2 separate regions of the Homo sapiens genome follow, and region 2 is linked to region 1. The links are contacts of gene promoters, found by promoter capture Hi-C in human tissues and cell types (Jung and others, 2019). All regions are on one chromosome and are shown on one strand. The core of a region is centred on a gene start or on the middle of the fragment in contact, and the rest is flanking DNA. Distances in the headings are between cores, read along the strand shown.

What was found. Contacts are between HindIII fragments. The study calls those that stand out against the background at their distance.
Region 2: a fragment that was not itself captured here is called in contact with the fragment with the promoter of ZSCAN2 in region 1 in 1 of the 25 tissues and cell types used here (lymphoblastoid cells).

What each region holds. Positions count from the first base shown.
Region 1 is chr15:84,599,496-84,602,478 of GRCh38, forward strand. ZSCAN2 (zinc finger and SCAN domain containing 2) reads left to right here and starts at 1,514. Exons shown (of 3, transcript NM_181877.4): 1 at 1,514-1,640. It overlaps LOC105370947 (a long non-coding RNA gene), which reads right to left. Exons shown (of 4, transcript NR_186225.1): 4 at 1-308. RefSeq lists an enhancer at 1,362-1,411 and a silencer at 1,732-1,881. The HindIII fragment of the contact is 21,972 bases long and covers 1-2,983 here.
Region 2 is chr15:85,701,750-85,704,732 of GRCh38, forward strand. All of the region lies in intron 17 of AKAP13 (A-kinase anchoring protein 13), which reads left to right. Among named protein-coding and RNA genes, the nearest start is that of LINC02883, 55 kb to the right of the region's middle. The HindIII fragment of the contact is 3,862 bases long and covers 1-2,983 here.

The sequences.
Region 1 (2,983 bases), core at 264-2,763:
ACTGCTGTGACAAAGGGATAATTTTCTTAATATACAAAGAGCTCTTACAAATAAATCCAATTTAAAAATGGGAAAAGGACCGGGCACGTGGCTCATGCCTGTAATCTCAGCACTTTGGGAGGCCAAGACGGCTGGATCACCTGAGGTCAGGAATTCAAGACCAGCCTGATCAACATGGTGAAATCTCTGTCTCTACTAAAAACACGCAAAATTAGCCAGGTGTGGTGGCGCACGCCGGTAATCCCAGCTACTTGGGAGGCTGAGGCAGGAGAATCACTTGATCCGAGATCGTGTCACTGCACTCCAGCCTGGGCGACAGAGGAGGAAAAAAAAAAGCAGTCATTTCATTGCAGGTGCCTCCAGTAATTGCTCAGTGCAAACATACATAACTATTCTATCACAGACCATTAAGGGTGTCTCTCTCCATTTTTAGATTTTCCGCTTGAGTTTCCAGGTAGTTTCTCACCTGTTTTCAAGCAGGGTTGGGGCAGCCGTTTCTTCAACAGCGCCAGCCGTAAAACACAAAGATGGAGGCCAACCTCCCACACCCGGGCACCCTCCCTTCCCCCATACTGAGATTGACAAGTAAGCAACCCGGTGATCAGTACTAAAATGGAGACGTCAGCCAGGTGCGGTGGCTCACACCTGTAATTCCAGCACTTTGGGAGGCTGAGGAGGAAGGATCGCTTGAGCCCAGGGGTTCGAGGTCAGCCTGGGCAACATATGGAAACCCTGTCTCTATGAAATGTAGATCCTGTCTGTGAGTGTGTGTGTATAAATAAATATATATATATATATACAAATACATACATATATATATTTAAAAAATAAAATGGGGACGTCCAACACGTGTACTAGGGGCGGTGTCTCTGCCTGGGGAGGTGGTGATGACAGGGCAGGCTCCACCCAGGAGAAGCTGGAAGAATGGGAGTTCCGCGGCAGAGGAGGCGGGGCAGGGCGTTCCTCCAAACACAGGAATACCACGTGCGAAAACAAAGGGGTGTGCGAAGACCGGGTGCATGTGTACAGCTGCAAACTGGGGGAAAGGCGCCAGGCTTGGGCGATGAGGATTTGTTCCCCCATGGATTCCCTTCCTGCCCAGGGTCCGCTCTCGCCGGTCGAGGGTGCCTAACAATACTCCTTGCCACAAGGTTCGCAGCCGAAAAGGTCCTTCAAGTCCGGCCATCCAACTTTCACTTTTTATAGACAAATATACAGAGGCCTTAGATAAGTGAAACGGCTTGTCTCGGGTTACAGCTCTAGCCAACACAGGGTTTCTGACGGTCAGTCTGCGGATTTTCCTGCCTCTGGTCCGCAGGCACTGCCCAGGCTGTCAGCCCCAAACCCTACTCCGGGGACCGCGGTCAGGTTCGTCTCCGGGCGGACTACATCTCCCACAATGCCTTGGGCCCAGCCTCCCTCCTGCCGCCCGGCTGGGTGCCGTCTCCACCAACAGAAAGGCAGAATTTCCAGGGCCGTTCTCGGCAGCCAATGAGCGCGGCGGTGGGCGGGCCTCTCCCGTCCATTGTTCTCGGTGCCCCACGGGCTTGAGCCGGGGTGAATCTGGAGGGGCCGGGCCGAGCCCGGGGGCGCTTTCGCACGCGAAGCAACCGCTAGAGCAGGACCTGGTCTCCCGAGAGGTGAGCCGGAGAGGCAGGCCTGGAGCCACGCGGACCCCGGGCAGTAGCCCGAGGTGAGGGAATAGTGGGCCTGGAGCCAGCTGCCGGCAGCTCTGCTGGGGGAGGGGCGTCGGGGTCGCGCTCCGTATCCTGCGGGCCCTGCAGCCCCGATTTACGCGCCGGCTCCGCTCAGCGAACCGTCCCGGACGCGTCTCCCTGGCGGAGAGCTCCTTGCCTCTCCTACCGAGAAGCGCAGGCTTTGGACGGGAAGGGGCATTCGACGACATCCCGCGCAGCGTACACGTTTTACAGATGGGGAAACTGAGGTTCAGAGGGGGCGTGTCGTGCCCCAAGTCAGACCGCAAATTAGCTGACCTGGCACACTTTTCCCAGGCTCCCAAGTAGGAAGAGTTCTCTTACACCATATGCCAGTATTTCTTCTAGTCATTTGAGTAAATACACGTTGAGAGCTTCGGTTTTCCCACTAGCTTTTATTTTTTGTCCTTTTTTTTTTAAGCTTTTGTCAGCTTTTCTCCCCTTTTCATTGAGGGAGGGTTGTTAGTTGAGTCTTTATGATGTAGTAATGATTTTTTAAAAAATTTTTTTATTTTTGTAGAGACTGGGTCTCACTCTGTTGCCCAGGTTGGTCATGAACTCCCGGCCTCAAGCCATCTTCCCTCCTCGGCCTCCCAAAGTGCTGGAATTACAGGCGTGAGCTACAGCGCTTGGGCTAAAAATAATTTTGTATTGCTTTTATAATATTTTAAGTCGTTTGCAATTCCACTGCTTTCAATATTTTGTAGGTGCCGTCCCGTTCTTTTTTCCTGTGAGTTCATTTTTTTTTTTTTTTTTTTTTGAGACGGAGTTTTGCTTTTGTTGCCCAGGCTGGAGTGCAATGGCCTGATCTCCGCTCACCGCATCCTCTGCCTCCCGGGTTCAAGCGATTCTCCTGCCTCAGCCTCCGGAGTAGCTGGGATTACGGGCATGCGCCACCACGCCTGGCTAATTTTGTTTTTAGTAGAGACGAGGTTTCTCCGTGTTGGTCAGGCTGGTCTCGATCTTCCGACCTCAGGTGATCCGCCCGCCTCAACCTGCCAAAGTGCTAGGATTACAGGTCTGAGCCACCGCGCCCGGCTGTGAGTTCATTTTTAAAGGGAATTGAGGACTTACTGTGTCTATGGTTTTTCTGCCCTGCTGATTTTGTGTTTATCCATTATTTTCCTATCAGAAGGATTATCTTAAATCATTAATGATTAATCTTTGTCAATATAATTTTTAAAATATTAAAAACATACAGCGTAATGTGCAGATCTTAAATTTCATATGTTTGCTCTTGTGCCGCCATTGCCAAATGAAGATATTGA
Region 2 (2,983 bases), core at 261-2,760, 1.1 Mb after region 1:
AGGTTTAAACTGAAAAGTATCAGACAGCAAAAAGGAATAGTTTAAGTTGGGCTTGACTGTTACCCTAATATGCACTAAGTTTCAAAAATACATTCTTTAATTTGCATACCACCCTACTCCAGAAGTAATGTAGAAATAGTCTCAACATCTGGTGATAGCATTAAGGTTTATGTAAGACAGTCTGCAGCCTGCCTCTTATAAAAAGAAGGGGGTAGGCCAGGCACGGTGGCTCACGCCTGTAATCCCAGCACTTTAGGAGGGCAAGGCAGGTGGATCACGAGATCAGGCGTTCAAGACCAGCCTGACCAACATGGTGAAACCCCGTCTCTACTAAAAATACAAAAAATTAGCTGGGCATGATGGTGGGCGCTTGTAATCCCCAGCTACTTGGGAGGCTGAGGCAGGAGAACTGCTCGAACCCGGGAGGCGGAGGTTACAGTCAGCCAAAGATCGCGCCATTGCACTTCAGCCTGGGTGACAGAGCAAGACTCACACACACACACACACACACACACACACACAAAAGGAGTGAAAAGGATTGAAAGCAACAAAATAGTATGTAGTCATCTTCTCAAAGGAACCAAAGTAATGGGCTGATTATCTTCAGCTTCCTGAAGAAGCTGAATGTTTGTATGTAGGAAGTCCCATGTGTTATCTTGGCAGGAAGTAGAAAATATGAGTAATTTGGGGACGCAGAATCTTTCGTCACTTCCCTCCATCGCGTCTCATGTCCAGGATCTTCCCAGGAGTCGTAGGAAATGTAGCATCCATGCAGTTAGTCGTTTACCTCCTAGGAAACCTTTGTGCTCTTAGGAGACAGTGGCTTCCCATTGTGGTTAAGTGTAACCCTGTTTGGCTGACCCCTGGATAGAGCTTCATACCCTCAGCACTGCATAGTCACCTTTGACTTGTGGTTAGAAAGATCAGCCATATAGTCCATCATGATGATATGTTATGATGGTTTATACAAGAAACTGGGACTTTTTATCTCAGCCAAAACGCTACTCTTGCTTTAGGATTAGGTGACTTTAACAGGGTTAATAGAGGAATGTCTTTTCAACTCTTATTTCTCTATTATGTAAAGCTGTCCTTGAATAGTCAGCTGTTCTTTCCAGCTGCCACAAATAATTTGTTCTTTGAAAAGCTTAGTGACTTAGTGGGGTCTTTCAGAATAAGGAATTTGTTATGTTCAGGTTTTGGGGTCTTGCCAGTGGTTCTGTTTTGCTTGCTTTAAACAGATGTAAAATGATACTGAGATTATTGCTGATTTATTTTCTGTTGTGCTAGCAGCATTTCAGTACTTTTGTGGTAGGTTGTTTCTTTTACATAAAAAATAAACAAGTAAACCAGCTGCAATCTAAGTAGGAAACATAAGAATTTAGAATGTGTGTGATGGTTAGATTTTACTTCTGATTTCATCAGAAAAGTTGCCCTCTAGACAGTTTTCTGGCATTTATAGTTCATTGCTTATATGAGAGAATAAAATACATATAGTTGATTAAAGGAAGGAAGTTTATTACTTAGGGAAAAGGAAGGTAAAAAAAGACCCTAAGCAATAAAGGCAATTCTTTTTTAAGCAGAATACTTTCATTTTATTTCATTTTTGTTTACCAGTGTTGTTACGAAAACTGCTGCTGGGGCTACTTCAGCTGAGATGATTTGGCTCTTTTTTGTGGCTTTCTTCTTGTTCTGTACATCAGCACTGTGGTTATTACACCAGCTACCAAGAACATCTCACATGCCTTTTGCATATAAGCACTCTTAGTCCAGATAGGGCGATGTCTCAAATCCCCCAAAGATTTTATTTATTGGCCAGGTGCCGTGGCTCACGCCTGTGATCCCAGCACTTTGGAAGGCTGAGGCGGGTGGATCACCTGAGGTTAGGAGTTTGAGACCAGCCTGGCCAACATGGCGAAATACCATCTCCACTAAAAATACAAAAAATTAGTCAGGCGTAGTGGCATGGACCGGTAATCCCAGCTACTCAGGAGGCTGAGACAGCAGAATCACCTGAACCCAGGAGGCAGAGGTTGCAGTGAGCCAAGATCGTACCACTGCACTCCAGCTTGGGTGACAGAGCAAGACTCCATCTCAAAAAAAAAAAATATATATATATATATATACACACACATATATTTAATAATTTTTTTTTGAGAGACAGGGTCTCTGTTAAAGATTTTAAACAAGAAGTTTAAAGTTGCAGAAAGAATTTTGTAGCATGCATTTCTAAATTTGCTCATATTTAACTGTTTTTTGTTTTATTTTCATTTTCTTGGTTAGAGTTGAAATGATAGGAGAAAGTTGTGCATTTCTATCCTTAAAGGTAATTCCTCAACTTGTGTCCTGGAGAAGAATCAGGTCATTTTTCCCAGTTAGATTTTGCTGCTCACATCTGTAGGCAGAACAGTCAGAAGTCTTCAGCCTATTCCCAAGTGATGATCAATGAACTGAAGTACTGGAAGACCTTTTTTGTCAGAGCCTTGGCTGCATATGACTCAGCTCCCAAAGGTGGCTCGTTTCTGTGTAGGCAGTCCTTTGATATTCTGTCATTTCATTTCAGTTTGGCATGGCCACTCCTCTTATCATTGTATAAAGTTGATTTTCTTAAGTTAGCCTCGCTAATGGTTTGTTTTATTTTTCTTCCGAAAGATAAAAAACACATAGTATATAACCATTCGCCAAAGATCTGTGGTGGTTGGTGGCATGGGTTAAAAAAAAGATACAGCAATAGATAGATGATAGTTTCCAGTCATGTGGGTTTAACTTCATTTTCTTTGGTTTGATGCCTCCTTGTAGCAAAGAAAGAAGTTGAAGGCTGGACTGTTTGTTTTAGGTACAGAGGAATCCGATTAGGGATCAGCTCTGTTCCCATAAACCACTGTGCTGAGACCTTTTTGAAGAATTTTAAAAAATGAAAGCATATTGCCTACTGCTATTAGGAAATCTATCAAATAAATAAATAAAAGGCCAGATAATTATTTTC